Linked DNA regions of Homo sapiens: region 1 is linked to region 2. Evidence: promoter capture Hi-C in human tissues and cell types (Jung and others, 2019). All regions are on one chromosome and are shown on one strand. The core of a region is centred on a gene start or on the middle of the fragment in contact, and the rest is flanking DNA. Distances in the headings are between cores, read along the strand shown. Region 1 has its middle 20 kb from the start of LL22NC03-102D1.18. Region 2 holds the start of PRAME (PRAME nuclear receptor transcriptional regulator).

Region 1 (7,731 bases), core at 4,309-6,808, 170 kb before region 2:
CGATAACCATTAGAATGTAGTTGCTAAAATTCTACCCACAGTGTAGGGGATGGTGATGCATGTAGGGTGAAGACATCCCTGAAAAAAGCAGTGACTGCACCACTCAGGCAGCTCCTTGTCACTGTCCCTGCATTTGAAGAGCTGGGAAGAGCTGCACATTGAGGGACCACAGCGCACAAGCATCAGGAAGCTGTCCCTGTCCTGGATGAGAAACCACAGAGCGGGTTTCCTTTTGGAATTCATGGTGGAAAGGGAAGGAGCTGAGAGAGAAGAATTCTCAAGGCCGCACTGCAGGAAGCCGCTTGCACTGGGCGAGGAAGCATCTTCAGAGCAAGGAGGGGGCCTGAGAGCCCAGGGCAGGTTTTGGTCTCAGTTCCCCAGGAACTTGGACCTCTGTGGAAAGTGCTGCTGCTTGTATATAAGCTGCAGTAATAATCAGCCTCGTCCTCAGCCTGGAGCCCAGAGATGGTCAGGGAGGCCGTGTTGCCAGACTTGGACCCAGAGAAGCGATCAGGGACCCCTGAGGGCCGATTACTGACCTCATAAATCATGAGTTTGGGGGCTGTGCCTGGGGGCTGCTGGTACCAGGAGACACGGTTATAACTACCAACGTCACTGCTGGTTCCAGTGCAGGAGATGGTGACTGACTGTCCAGGAGACCCGGACACGGAGGGAGGCTGAGTCAGGGCAGACTGAGCCCAGGATCCTGGAAAAAGGAAGAAACACATTTTAGTAAGTCAGTGCTGGGCCCAGGTGAGCCTGAGGAGCAGGAGTTAAGGATCAGCCCAGAGGTCCCCGAAGCCCCTTCCCTGGAGGCCTCACCTGTGCCCTGAGTGAGGAGGGTGAGGAGGAGCAGAGCCCAGGCCATGGTGGAGATATTCCGAGAGAGCTGCCTCCTGAGATCCCAGCACTGGGCCTGACCCCAGCCCTGTCTTATCCCCTCTGCCTCAGAGGAGGGCGGGGCCTTTATGCAAATCTGCACCCTGAGCTCCTCTCCTCACTCCACCCTCACCTGGGCCTGGGCTCAGAGACTTCTTCTTCCCTGGACAGCGGGGCTCAGCCGAGGAGATTAAAGTCCCTGTTTGTCTATTCTGATGGCAGGATCTTAATTTTTTTGTACCTGATTTGCTCAGGAGAGAAAGATCTGCTGACATCCCTTACCTGAGTGAGCTCCTGGCTCTCAGTGTCTCTGCTGTGTGGCGCCTGTGTCTCTGTGGCCCTCCAGGCCTGGGCACATGGCACAGTGCCCTCTGCTTGGCACCCACCTCTAGGCTGTCTCTACTGTCAGGAAATGGGGCTACCCACCCCGTGGAAACCTCTGCTGGGCATCATGGGTCCCTGGTCTCCACAGCTGCAGCCTCGTCCCATCCCTACTCCCTACCTTTGGTGCTGAAGCATCTGCCGCATTGAATCCCTGGAGCACATCAGCCACCCCAGGCAGTGCACCCACATCCACACGGGCACATGTGGGAGGGACCCTGTGGAGGGAACAAGGAGCACTGACCAGGGCCAGAGTCCTGAGCCCGAGTCTGCTGCTCCCAATCCCGCCCTTCCCACTCATGAGCAGGCCACTTGTCCTTCCCAGCCTCTAGTTCTCAGCCTGAGAAATGGGGACCAGAGAGTCCACTCTGCACACAGGTGATCCATGGGGATATGAGCCAGCAGGTCAAAGGGAAAGTTTGTTACCAGGCCTTTCTGTGTGCATCAGAGTGATATTTATTGTGAATGTTTGAATTATTGAAAGACTTATTTCCATTACTGTGATTTATCTGTCAGGTCACAGAGACGCGTTTCCTGCTTTCTCGCTTTTTCCCATCTGAGCGCATCCTCAGGGCAACCTAAAGCTGGCTGCTCTCAACCCTGCGACACTGAAGACACACAGACATTTGATAAATACATTTTTATTTTTTCTCAAAATAACTTGAATATCTTTTCCTCTTTCCTCATTGCTTATGACAAAATTCTTTTAATGTTTCATATTAAAATAAATATTAATGGATTCAGCTTCCATTTAAATATTATAACATACACTGTCCTGTCTTCCCACCTAGATTCATCTCTGAAACCATGACAAGGGCATGGAGCAGCTATTTGAGCACCAGGAAAGGAAATGGTACACAGCAGTTTGGGATGGCCCCAGCAGATGAAATAGAACAGTCAGTGTGAGACTCCTGGATTTCCTCAGTGTCCCCTGGCTGGGATCCAGACAGCCCCAAACCTGAAGGGGCACAAGCCTGAAAACAAAAAGAAGTCCAGAAGGCCCTCTTGTTCAGGATTGAACCTGGGAAAGAAAACTTTGGCTCCAAGTGAAGGCTCAGTCCCCTGCACAAGCAGGTGGTTCACACCTGTGTTCTCATCTCTCTCATACCAGCGCCTCTCCCTGGGTTCACACTGATGTCCTATGGAAGGAGACGGGGCTTCCTGCACCAGGTCACTCCACAGCCCCTGTAACCTGAAGCCCTGCAGACCAGCCTTGTTCAATCACAATATGATGTGAGCCTCATGGGAATCCCACTGTCTAGTTGTCATGTTATAAATACAAAGAGAAGAAGTCAATGAGTTTAAATAATGTATTTTATTTACCTAGCATATCAAAAAGAGTATCATTTTCATATATAATGTAAGTACAATTATTTATGATATATATCATATACTTTGCATGGCTATTGTTATTACTTTTTGAAGAATCTTGGAGATTGTGTGGCTGATGGAGATGTGAATGGGTTTCCTGTTGACAAGGGTGGGGTGTGGTGGCTTTTTAAGTGTCAACTTATGTGAAGGCTCAGTCCCCTGCACAAGCAGGTGGTTCACACCTGTGTTCTCATCTCTCTTACACCAGCGCCTCTCCCTGGGTTCACACCAATGTCCTATGGATGGAGATGGGGCTTCCTGCACCAGGTCACTCCTCAGCCCCTGTAACCTGAAGGGGTGCAGACCAGCACTGTTCATTCACAATATGATGTGAGCCTCATGGAAATCTGAATGTCTAGTCATCGCATTAAAAATACAAAGGGAAGAAGTAAATGAGTTAAATAATTTACTTTATTTACCTAGCATATCAAAATAGTATCACTTTCATATGCAATGTAAGTACAATTATTTGAGACATCTTATATATATACTTTGCATGGCAAGTGTTATTATTTTTTGAAGAATAAACTGTAGATCTTCTGTTTAAAATATAAGTCCAGTGAAATGTGGTCATATCCACATGTACTCCTGCTTCCCGTGTATACTGAACACAAGATTGATTTTCCCACCCCAATAAGAACAGCTGCACTGTAACTGGGAGCACCTGATGTTTCTGTCACTAAACCTCAGTGTGTACTTGAACCATCATCACCATCATTGTCATGGTATTTTTTCCATTAATCATAAGAACAAGAAGATTAAGGTAGAAAATTATGAGCCTAACTAGGTGGGACCTTTCTGTGTTCAAACCACAAAGGAGAAACTCTATAGCATTCCCTACAACTGTGGTTTTATCAGCATGGTTTTATTTTTCCTTATAAACTTAAATATTTATCAAAAGTTAACATTTCAGTGATTAAAATTGATACATTTCTTCCCCAAGATTTTGATCATTTTTATGTTTTTGATGTGAAACTGTGCTTCTTATTGCTAGAAGGCCTTTTCTTTCCTGTAGGAATAATAAAAATTACTTTTAAACAACATTAGGCCCCTGTTGGATCACAGGCCCTAAGTGGATTCCTAGGTCCCAGGTGCACATCAGGAGCACGTGTACAAGCAGGCCCTGGGTGGACTTACCTGTGTACAGGTAAGGATCTGGCCTGGGGGGAGGGTGAGCAGCCAGCAGCCCAGGGGGTTCTGAGTAGGTCTTATGGAAGGAAGGGGCTGAGGATACGGAACCTTAAAGAAGTGACTTCACTTCCTTGGTGATATACCCTCACAGAACTTAGAATTCTGGTAACCAGGCACCCACATCCTAGAGACAGTCCCGCAGCCAGTTCCCTTGGTGGGAGATGCTCAGGAGAGCAAGATGTTCTCATGCTGCATCCGCATATCTTGAGGCTCCTGCTTCAGGAGGGCCCAGAGTGACAGCCTTTTCCCATGATGCCGATGCAGGCTCATTCCTCACCCCAGGCACCTCTGGCCGAAGGCGCACCCAGGTACCACAGGACAGCCCTGGGCAGGCCCTACGAGGCCAGGCCTCACTGGTGATCCCATCCGGGCCACATCCGTGCATTGTCCTTGGCCTGCTGGAGCCTCTGGAGTTCCTCCAGGCACAGGCACATGGTGAGGGGGGGCCTGTAGTTTTGGAGACTTTGCGGGGGCAGTGTTTTTGGACTGGAATTCCTTTAATTCAGTGAGGCTGATTCTGTGTGTGGAAATTCCAGTGGAAAGTGACTGACATTGGTGACTCTTTCTTCTTTTTCATCTCCTGCTCAATGTGCGGCAATCCAGGACCTTCCAGCACCAGCTGATGAGCCAGTGCCAGCACTAGGGGAAGAGCCCCCTTCAGGGACAGAACTGGAGCTAGAGGCAGCTGCAGAGCCCTCCTGCCCCTGCCCTGGTCCTGCCAAGGACCAGCCCATTAAGGAGCTGCCTGACATCATGGCACCTGCTCTAGCCACTGGCCTCAGCCATGGGGCTGAAAGCATGGCTTGAGCAAGAGGTAGAAGAGAGCAGGTGGCCAGCACAGCCCCAGTCAGCAGCTGCCACTCTGCTCTCAGCCCTGGGCACTGTGGGAGGCATGGAGGCAGAGACCCAGGTATGTGGCCTGCGCTCCTCTGACTCACTGGAGTCAGCAGTGAGTGGTCAGCACATTTTGTGTCTGGTGAGGGCTTCCTTCCTGGTTCATAGACGGCCATCTTTGTACTGTGTCCTCACATGACAGAAGGGATGAGGAGTTCTCAGCCGTCCCTTTGATAGGGACACTGATCCCCTTCACGGGTTCTCTGCTTTCATCACTTAATCACCTTCCAAGGCCTCACCTCCAAATCCCATCACATAGGGAATTAGATTTTAACACATGAATTGGAGGGGACAGTAAGATTTGGTCTACAGCATCAGGACACTCTGAGCCCTTTGCACTCACAGGAAATCTCTAATCTTCTACAAGTGTTTGCTGGTCCCCTCTGGGTTTAGGGAAATTTGTAATTGCCGCTCTTGAGTCAGCTTGGTCCAAGCTTAAATTTTACATTTGCCCACATAACTTGTTCATGAGACAGAGGGAACTTTAGTGGCAACTGACCATTTGGGAGGTTTAGGGAATCCATGGGGGAGGGCTTGGGATCTGGATGAGCAGAACTGGAGGGAGGAAAGGAGAAAGGTGCAGAAGGAGAGAGGGCAGAATATGAAAGGGGAAGAGGACCTCTGGATACAAGGGTCAGCTGAAGGGCAAGGAAGGTAATTTTCCTTGCATTGTAAACTCGGATCCCGTATCATGTCAGCATCATCTGAGGAATACACTTTTTCAATGCATATTCCTGGGTTCTGGAAATGTTGATTTCATAAATCTGGAGTTATGTCAATTTATCTGTATTTATCATAAGAATTTTGGATAATTCTGATGAAATTAGACCACAAAGCAGAGCTTGACAACCACTCGTTTGGGATGTGTATCTGGAAGACATTTGATTATATGAAATAATCACAGAAAACTGAGGAGGAATTGTGTATTTAAAAATGCTTGCATATAATTCAGCTCTTCCTATATATGCAGTTTGACCACACATTTTGTCTCTACAATACTAAGATTGGAAATGTGCAGAAAGTCTTTTAAAAATCAAGTAGTCGGAGGAAAGGAGTTGGAGAGAAAAAACAACTGACAATTATCTGATAAGAAGAGAAGAGAAGAGAAGTGAAGGGGAAGGAAGTAGCATATTTTTGTACATTATTTGATGACATCTAAATTATAAGCTCAAATTGTGTTTCTAAGGAAGCCAATAATACAAGTTTTCAGAGTGTAGAGGGTGTAGTGCCAACACTGATTTGCTGGGAAAGAGAAGTGTACTCTGTCTTGCTGCGTAACGTGAAACAGGCTCAAAAAAAGGGTCAGTATTTAAGAAGTGTTTGTTTTATTGGTGCTGAATTATTTTATCTCATACTTAGTTGAAAGTGAAAGGGCTATAAAGTGCTTAGGTTGAACACAAAGTCCTCTGCTATCGGTAACATCTTCAGGAGCCGTATTAGAGGAGGGACACGTAGCAATGGCGGAGTGAATGACTCTTTGCTTATGCATTAAACCAAACAGTATGGCATGTATTTTATTAAGAAATCTGTTAAGATGAAGTAAACCTCTGGTTCTTGTTCCTAATAGGCACACTATTTGCTATGGCAGCAAGAACAAAAGGCTTAAGTACCAAAAACGTACGTTAACTACAAACATTTTCGTATAAACAAAACAATGTGAGCATCCATATATGACAGTAACTCCTAAGCCCAAAATATTTTTAACTGAGATTGAAATCATTTTCTGCATAACAAACGTTATTATTGTATTCTGAGATGATGTATTATTTGTATATGGATACTATAAATATTAACTTATTTAAGTTATTCATTATTTATTCAACAAATCTCTGGAATCTACAAAATGCTGGTTTCGGCACTGAATGTAGAATTGATATAAAATATAATACTTTTTCTTAGTGGTTGATTAAAAACACTATATATATATATTAGATAGAGGTTGTACTATTGAATCAGGCAGAGACTGACTTGCTAATAAAAAAATCAGGAAACCCAGTGTGATTATTTTTAATAATAATCTATATTTTAATACAGGGCTCTTGTTTTTTTCTCATAGAAATATATTACAATATGGAATTTCTGGTGTTTGGTATCTGAATGTTTTAGTATAGCAGGTATAGTGAGTTTTCCAAAGACATTTTACCAGCTTACTTGCCCATCAGTGACTCATAAGATATTACGTGGAACCACATCCTCTCCAACAACTTCTAGTATCAGTCTTTGTAAAGCGTGTCTATTAAATGGGTGTGGGTTTTGCAGGTGATTATTCTGTTACTGAAAGATACTAGGATACCTAGCTGTAATAAGCGAGGCATGCAGAGGCACATGTTTAGAGTGTGTCCCGACCCCGGAATTAAAACAAATCCAATTTGTGCCTCCACTGTTCAATAAAAAGTTTCCTTAAGAATCCAGAGATCAGGCATTCCTTTGAGAAACCACTCCAATATGGTTTCTCACCTACTCACTCCAAGAAAATTGCTCTTATCAAAGCACAAACAATATCCATATCGTTAAATGATGAATTGAAGCATAATTCCTCAGCCTTTGTCTTAATTTATGTATCAGCAGCATTGAAAGCAGTTGATCTCTTCCTCCCTCCTTTTTTCAAAACTTTCTTTGAGAGAATTCCAGAACACTTAACCTACTTTCCCTTTGACATTTTTGATAATTACCCCTAGTACTTTTTTGCTGGTTTCTTCTTGTCTTTATCACTTTTTTTTCTTTCTGAGATGAAGTTTTGCTCTTGTTTCCCAGGCTGGAGTTCAATGATGCAATCTCGGCTCACCACACCCTCCACCTCCCTGCTTCAAGCGATTCTCCTGCCTCAGCCTCCTGAGTAGCTGGTATTACAGGCATGAGCCACCACACCCGGCTAATTTTGTATTTTTAGTAGAGATAGGGTTTCTCCATATTGGTCAGGCTGGCCTTGAACTCCCGACCTCAGGAGATCTGCCCGCCTTGGCCTTCCAAAGTGCTGGGATTCCAGGCATGAGCCACGGCACCCGGCCTACTACT
Region 2 (7,571 bases), core at 927-3,426:
TAAAAAAGAGAAAAAGCATTATAACCTAAGATGCTCAGCTATGGCAAGCCATATATGCATCTCAAGAGGGGAGGGCAAAGGGAAGGTTGTATTGGCAAAAAAAGAGATTTAAATAAGCTGCTTGCAAACAGTTCACCGGTTATGAAGACTCAAAACCACAGTTGGCATCAGTTCATTGGTGGAGACGCTGTGCCTAGGCAGGTGTTCTTTCAAAAGCATCTTATCTAAATTGTTGTGATTCCAAAACAGGAATGTCTTGCAGGGCTATTTCGAAAAGTCCCGAGACAGCCAACCCTTTTTAAAAATATAGATGGGGTCTTGCTATATCACTCAGGCTAGTCTTCAATTCCTGGCCTCAGGGGATCCTCCAACCTTGGCCTCCCAAAGTGCTGGGATTACAGGGGTGAGCCACCACACCCAGCTTCCTGAGACAGCTTTTATCTCAGCCATGTAAGCATGAGCCCTTCCCTTTCATACCCTCAGGGTTTTACTTTGGGTCAACAAATAGTGAGTTTATTTTGGTATGTGCAACTTTCAAACACCCATCGCCATAAAAGAAAGGACCAGCCTTGGCCAGGCACAGTGGCTGATGCCTGCAATCCCAGCACTTTGGGAGGCCGAGGTGGGCGGATCATGAGGTCAGGAGATCAAGACCATCCTGGCTAACACGGTGAAACCCTGTCTCTATTAAAAACAAAAAAATTAGCCAGGCATGGTAGCGGGCACCTGTAGTCCCAGCTACTTGGGAGGCTGAGGCGAGAGAATGGCATGAACCCGGGAGGCGGAGCTTGCAGTGAGCCGAGATCGCGCCACTGCACTCCAGCCTGGGCAAGAGCGAGACTCCGTCTCAAAAAAAAAAATAAATAAATAAAGGACCAGCCTCGACTGACAGTCGGCACTCCGCAGGCATCCTCCACAATCCTCTCTCCTCTCTGCCTCTTGCCCTACAACCTGGCCATGCCATGATTCCTCCCTACCTGTCCTCCTCTGTGGACTTCATGACCACGCTCTGTCCTATGAGGCTGGACCAGGGTCATGTTCACTCACTTCTCTCCCCTCCCTGCCATTTGTTCCACTCCCCAACTTGTTCTCCACGCATCGATCTCAATGGAGCAACAGCAATCAGATGATGAAAATAAATAATGGTGGCCAGTCTTCAAATGGATCCCCTTTTCAATCCCGCACTATCCATCTGCTGCCTTCTCATCAGCCCTCTGCCCCAGTTTCTTTCCCTTCTCAAACTGGACAAGCACCGTACTCCGTGAAGATGTGTGCAGCCTGTTCCCATGCCCTGAACACCATCCCTTCAAGCTCCTCTGGCTGCTCCCTGCTCAGGTCTCAGAAAAGGAGAGCTGGGCAACCCTCCCAGGGAGCCGCCCGCCTGTGTAACTTTCAGTACCAGCCTGTTTGCTTTCTTGAGATAATTAGCTACAACGGCCACTTTAAAACAATGGTCTTCTTATTTTGTTTTTTGTTTTCACCCTAAACTTTATAAAGTCAGAAATCGTAAGTCCTTGAGCATCCACAGCCACTCAAGGACGAACCTTTGCTGAATGCCTCAAGCAGAGAGGGGGAGGCTGAGTCTCTGTTTCGAAGGTGAAAACACAACGGTTTTTATCAGCCCTGTTTTATGCGACAATCCCAGGTCGAATCTGGATCAATGCAATGACTTCCTTTGCATGGACCTATGTTTTGTTCGTGCATTCATCTGTGCAGCTGGGAACCCGCAGCTCTGTTCACTGGCATGGGGATGCCTCGGGGAATGGCAGGGCAGAGCCACAAAAAGCCAGCCTCACCACGCGGCCTGTTGCTCTTAGCCACCATGCCCATCATAGCCTGTGGCAGGAGATGTTGGGGTCCCCCCCCCCGACCCCTTTCAGGAAAACAGAGTTTGTGGAGGCGGAGTACTTCCCAGGCCTGACTGATAAAACAATTCAAAAGACTCAAAGAGATTCCTCGCCTGTCCCGTCCCTTGAAGGGCCTTGAACACGGGGTCCTTCCGCTTGGCTCCTAGCCCGTCCCTCTCCCCTTACCAGGAAAGGATCCTCCCCATCTCTGCAGAAGCCTGACCATCCCCCTAGAGGGCCTGGGAGGAAGTGGGTTTTGCATACAGTCCCTGTTGACTCTAGTGCCCCCTGCTGGCCCCAGACGCGAGTTCCGGCGAGGCTTCAGGGTACAGCTCCCCCGCAGCCAGAAGCCGGGCCTGCAGCGCCTCAGCACCGCTCCGGGACACCCCACCCGCTTCCCAGGCGTGACCTGTCAACAGGTCTGTATTGGCGACAAAAGGAGCAGCCCTGAATGTAGGGAAAGCAGGGCGGAGTCCTCTGCAGGCTCGGGGGAGGGGAGGGGCGTGAATGCGTGGATTTCTGTGGAGAGTGGAAACACGGGGAGTCGAGGGGAGCATGCGCGGGCCTCAGAAAGTTCTGGGAAACCGACTCCCGGGAGCAGGGAGGAACGCGCGCTCCAGAGAGTAAGTTAATTGAATCCCGGGGGGTGGTCTCTTCAGCCCGGGGGGTTACAGAAGTAGGTAAATCCAGAGATTACCCAGCCAAGGCCAGGGGCATCTTTTCTAGACTTGCGGGGCGGGGTGGGGCGAGAACTTGAGCTCAGGGGACCCTGGAACCGGCCCCTGCACCCCGCATCCCACTGAAGAAAAGGGAGGTCGCCAGAAGCACAGACCCAGGACAGAGTCCAGACTTGGACGTCTCCGTGATCCCAGAACACCCCGTCCCACACTCCCAGTCAGCCCCCCGCCTCCCCACTGCCTCTCCATTCGCCCACCGCACCCCCTTTTTCCACCCTGCCCCCACCCTACTGTCTGGTGGGAAAGGCCGCAGCCATCACGTATTCACCCATCCCCACCCCTCACCCCCCACCTTCTGACTTTCTTTCCACATCCCCACCCCCTCCCCCACTCTCTGCCTCTTTTCCCTCCCCCTCCCCAACCCTTTGTTTTTCTTACACATCCCCACCCCTCCCCCAACCTCTGTCTTCTCTCATCCCCACCCCCACCCTGTTTCCCTTCCCCCATTCCCGCCCTGGCCCGCCTTCTGTCTCCCTTCCCCCATCCCCACCCCTCCCCCCCTTCTGTCTCCCTTCCCCCATCCCCACCCCTCCCCCGCCTTGTCTACCTTCCGCCATCCTCACCCCTCCCCCACCCTGTCTCCCTTCCCCCACCCCACCCCTCCCCCACCCTCTGTCTCCGTTCCTAATCCCCACGCCTCCACCACTCTTTGTTTCCCTTCCCCCATCCCGACCCCCCACCCCACCCTGTGTTCCTTCCTCCATCCCCCCCCACTGTCTTTCTTCTCGGTTCCCCACCCTGTCTCCCTTCCCGCATGCCCACCCCTCCCCCACCCTGTCTCCCTTCCCCCATGCCCACCCCTCCCCCACCCTGTCTCCCTTTCCCCATGCCCACCCCTCCCCCACCCTGTCTTCCTTCCCCCATGCCCACCCCTCCCCCACCCTGTCTTCCTTCCCCCATTCCTAACCCTCCTCCCGCCCCCCCTTCCCCACCCCCATCTCCCCTCCTTCCCCACCCCCATCTCCTCCCCACCCCCAGCCTCCTCTGCTCTCCAACTTCCTCTCCCCTTTTCCCCTCCTCCTGCTCCCTTCTCCTCTGCTCCTCCCCCCACTGCCCCTCCCCCACTGCCCCTCCTCCTCCCAGTCTTTGAAAACAAGCCCCTCTCGACTCTCTGGGCGACCTCACTGGATCTCGTGAGATTTTGCCCTGGAAGGACTGAGAAACGGGGATTGGTCAGACCAGGCTGCCCAGCCCCCCGGTCCCCACCGCCGCCCCCCCCGCCCCACGCAGCGGCTAGGGCGCTTAGCTGAGCCATTGTCTCGTTCTTTCCTTCCAGCAACTTCGCGGTGTGGTGAACTCTCTGAGGAAAAACGTAAGTTCGAGCCCTGATTCCTCCGCTTCCCCGCAGGGTGACCTTGGGCTTGTGCCCCCAGCACCACCCCTGTCCCGGGTCCCTGTTTTCTCTCTGGAAATGGGTTGAAGACCAAAGAAAATAATGTGCGCCACTTGGGTCACCCCGGGCCGCCTGCCCCGGAAAATTGGCCCCAGTTGAGGAGTTGTGGCTGTAAGGATGCCTTGAACCGAGGCGGCGGTGCTCGTGGTTGGAGCTCTCCAGGGTGGGTGCGCATTTGTAATGCGGTGGATGCTCTGGGACTCGGCCCCTCTGAAGGTGCTGGGGGTTGGGGACGGCCCAGGCAGTGGCGTAGGCGTCCTAGGAAGGCGGGAGCAGAGGCAGAAATGTCGCTGCAAGACCGTAGTCAGGGTCCTTGACCACAGGGGTCACTTGTGACCAACCACATGGTCTGTTGTTCCTCCTGCCCCCTGGTTCAGCCCAGGAAACACTGGTGCTCAGGTTTGGAGCCAGAGATTTGCACTGAAAGGGCGGGATTGAGTCGCCAGTTGTCAGTTTCCTCAGCAGTATTTGCGGAGGTTTTCACAGGAGGCCGTTGCTTCGTAAATATTATACATGTATTCTTCTTTTTGGAGCATTTTGATTATTACTCTCAGACGTGCGTGGCAACAAGTGACTGAGACCTAGAAATCCAAGCGTTGGAGGTCCTGAGGCCAGCCTAAGTCGCTTCAAAATGGAACGAAGGCGTTTGTGGGTAAGAAGGTCCCCTGAGCTGTCTGAGGTGCTCAGAGAAGCCCTGTTCCCCTCTGTCCTTGTCACTCGAGCCAGATGGGAGCTGCATCCTGAGGTCCCTCACAGTAGACGAAGAGGCAGGAGCCGCTTTTATTGTTTCTGGTCATTTCCACAAAAGAGCATTTCACTTCCCGTGCTGTCTTTGTATGAGAGTCAACCCTAGGGTCGGGCACGGTGGCTCATGCCTGTAATCCCAGCACTTTGGGAGGCTGAGGCGGGCGGATCACCAGGTCAGGAGATTGAGACCATTCCTGGCTAACACTGTGAAACCCCGCGTCTACTAAAAGTACAGAAAGTTAGCCGGGCGTGGTGGCATGCACCTGTAGTCCCAGCTACTCAAGTGGCTGAGGCAGGAGAATCGCTTGAACCCAGGAGGCGAAGGTTGCAGTAAGCCAAGATCATGCCACTGCACTCCAGCCTGGCGACAGAGCGAGACTCCGTCTCCAAAAATAAAAATTAACCCTAGGCCAGGCATGGTGGCTCATGCATGTAATCCCAATCCCAGTACCATGGGAGGCCGAGGTGGGCAGATCACCTGAGGTCAGGAGTTCGAGACTAGCCTGGCCAAAATGGTGAAATCCTGTCTTTACTAAAAATAGAAAAAAAATTAGCTGGGCGTGGTGGCCCACATCTGTAGTCCCAGCTACTTGGGAGGCTGAGACAGGAGCAGGAGAATCGCTTGAACCCAGGAGGTGGAGGTTGCAGTGAGCCAAGATGGTGCCAGTGCACTCTAGCCTGGGCAACAAGAGTGAAACTCCTCCTCCAAAAAAAAAAAAAAAATCTTAATGCATTGTGGACCTTATTGCCAAAGCCACGATTACATTCAGAACCTTTCCCCGGGGTAATCAGACGCAAAAGCCCACACTTCCAGTGGTGTCAGAGAGTATGAGCTCCAGGAGGCTTTGATCTCACTGCCCCATGGGCTTGGGCCATTAGGGGTAAGTGTCGGTCCTGGGAAGTGAGCAACAAGATTGCACTGCCTCATCCTTGGGTGCCACCTGGGGAGATCAGGGAGAACATGCAACCTGGGTTGAAGCCGGGAGACTTGTGCTGGAACTAAAGGCTCAAGGACGGCACAGTGCGTTGGACTGTGGGACCGTGCTCGGGTGCTGTTGGTATCCACAAGCCTGTAATCCCAGCACTTTGGGAGGCTGAAATGGGTGGATCACTTGAGCCCAGGAGTTCAAGACCAGTCTGGGAAACATAGTAAGACCCTGTCTCTAAAAAAGAAAAAGAGGCTGGGCATGGTGGCTCACTCTTGTAATCTCAACACTTTGGGAGGCCTAGACAGGCAGATCACTTGAGGTCAGGAGTTTGAGACCAGCCTGGCCAACATGGTGAAACCCCATCTCTACTAAAAATACAAAAATATAGCCGTGTGTGGGGGCGTGTGCTTGTAATCCTAGCTACTTGGGAGGCTGAGGCAGGAGAATCGTTTGAACCCAGGAGGCAGAGGTTGCAGTGAGCCAAGATTGCGCCACTGCACTCCAAAAAAAACACCTGAAGGACCTGGTGCAGATACTTCGGGGGTCCCCACTGGGATTCTATGACTAGAGAGGAGGGTGCAGACCACCCACCTGATGAGCTCAGAGGCCACTCTGGCCTGTGCAGCCCACAAGGACCATAAGAACCAGTAGACAGGACATGCAGAAATATCTCCCCAATTCATGTCTGGACCCTAGGAGTCATGCTGGGCCCCAGTCTTTTCACTTCTCCCTTATACTGGGAGGAAGGACAGCACCTTTGTGCAAATGTGCCCCTGGTGCTGCTTCCTCCAGTGCCACTGGACAAACTGGCAGTGTGAAGCTGGACAGAGGAGTGTCACTGCCTCACAGGGAGATTGCACAGCTCAGAGATTACACAACTCACACTTGATCGCGGTTCCTCCTCCTCCCTTGGATCTCCTGGAAGCGGGGATCCCATGGAAGCTTCCCTAACTGTTGGACTTACTCAGTTTTCCTGTTTTTCCATGGTTTATGTGAAGCTTATCAGCCCTTTCTAACACTTAGATTGTTTGATAGGGAGGGAAATGAAACTCTTTCTAAACTCCTCACATAAGGGCTACCAATTCCTGCTTGCTTGGAGCTGAGCAGGTTCTTCCCCAGACAGAGTCAGGGACTTACAAGACTAAAAATGAAAATGACAGTGAACTTTAGATTCTCTGTGAAGGCTATTTGAGGTAATGAATGAGAGCTGCTGCGGCCTTTGCTGTGCCCAGTAGCTGCTTGATAATTAGGGACATTGACAATGACCTTTATTACTAATCTCAGTCTCCCGCAGCTGATGAGTGAAGATGATTGCCTGGGAATTAAAGGAAATGTAGAACAAATTGTAGTTTAACCCGGTTTTCACAAAGGCCATTAGGTGTTGAGGGTGAAAAGTAGGAGAAAGTCTCCAGAGAGAGAACCAAAATGGAAAACATCCTTCAACGAATTACAGCCTCCTTACGCAGGCCACAGTAAACAAAGTCAGGCCGCAAGACATTCCAGCTGGACACTTGCCAGTAGAATATAAGAATTGTAGGGACTTCACAGTGCATGAGGCAGAGAATGGCCTGGAGAATTCTTTGGGTGGAGAGGTTCCAAAACTTCAAAAGCACCAGTGGGTGATCAGGCCCAGGATAGGAATCATCCCTAAGCAGATCCTTAAATGCCAAATATAACTTCAATTTTTTGTGACGGAAAATGTATTTGTGCACTGTGCCTAGCATGGAAATAGAGAAAAACTGAGTCTAATTGATAGGCCTGATTGCATCTCGCTGACCAGAATCTCTGTACCTGAGCAGCTTAGGGGCAAGAAAGAACAGCTGTTTTCTTGAAGTGTGGAAACATTAGTAATACTTAGGAAGGGGCTGGCCATTGGAGATTATGTTTGTGGTAAAGGCCTGACCTGCTGCTTGTGAAC

What was found. Contacts are between HindIII fragments. The study calls those that stand out against the background at their distance.
Region 1: a fragment that was not itself captured here is called in contact with the fragment with the promoter of PRAME in region 2 in 4 of the 25 tissues and cell types used here (H1 embryonic stem cells, dorsolateral prefrontal cortex, heart left ventricle and 1 more).

What each region holds. Positions count from the first base shown.
Region 1 is chr22:22,727,757-22,735,487 of GRCh38, reverse strand. It overlaps IGL and IGLV2-18. Among named protein-coding and RNA genes, the nearest start is that of LL22NC03-102D1.18, 20 kb to the right of the region's middle. RefSeq lists an enhancer at 1,364-1,864. The HindIII fragment of the contact is 6,996 bases long and covers 2,061-7,731 here.
Region 2 is chr22:22,553,870-22,561,440 of GRCh38, reverse strand. It overlaps PRAME (PRAME nuclear receptor transcriptional regulator), which reads left to right and starts at 2,176. Exons shown (of 6, transcript NM_206956.3): 1 at 2,176-2,470; 2 at 3,861-3,896; 3 at 4,532-4,629. The coding sequence starts at 4,609. It overlaps LL22NC03-63E9.3 (a long non-coding RNA gene), which reads right to left and starts at 2,098. Exons shown (of 3, transcript NR_027426.2): 1 at 2,034-2,098. It also overlaps IGL. RefSeq lists an enhancer at 1,965-2,259 and a silencer at 7,080-7,277. The HindIII fragment of the contact is 17,569 bases long and covers 1-7,571 here.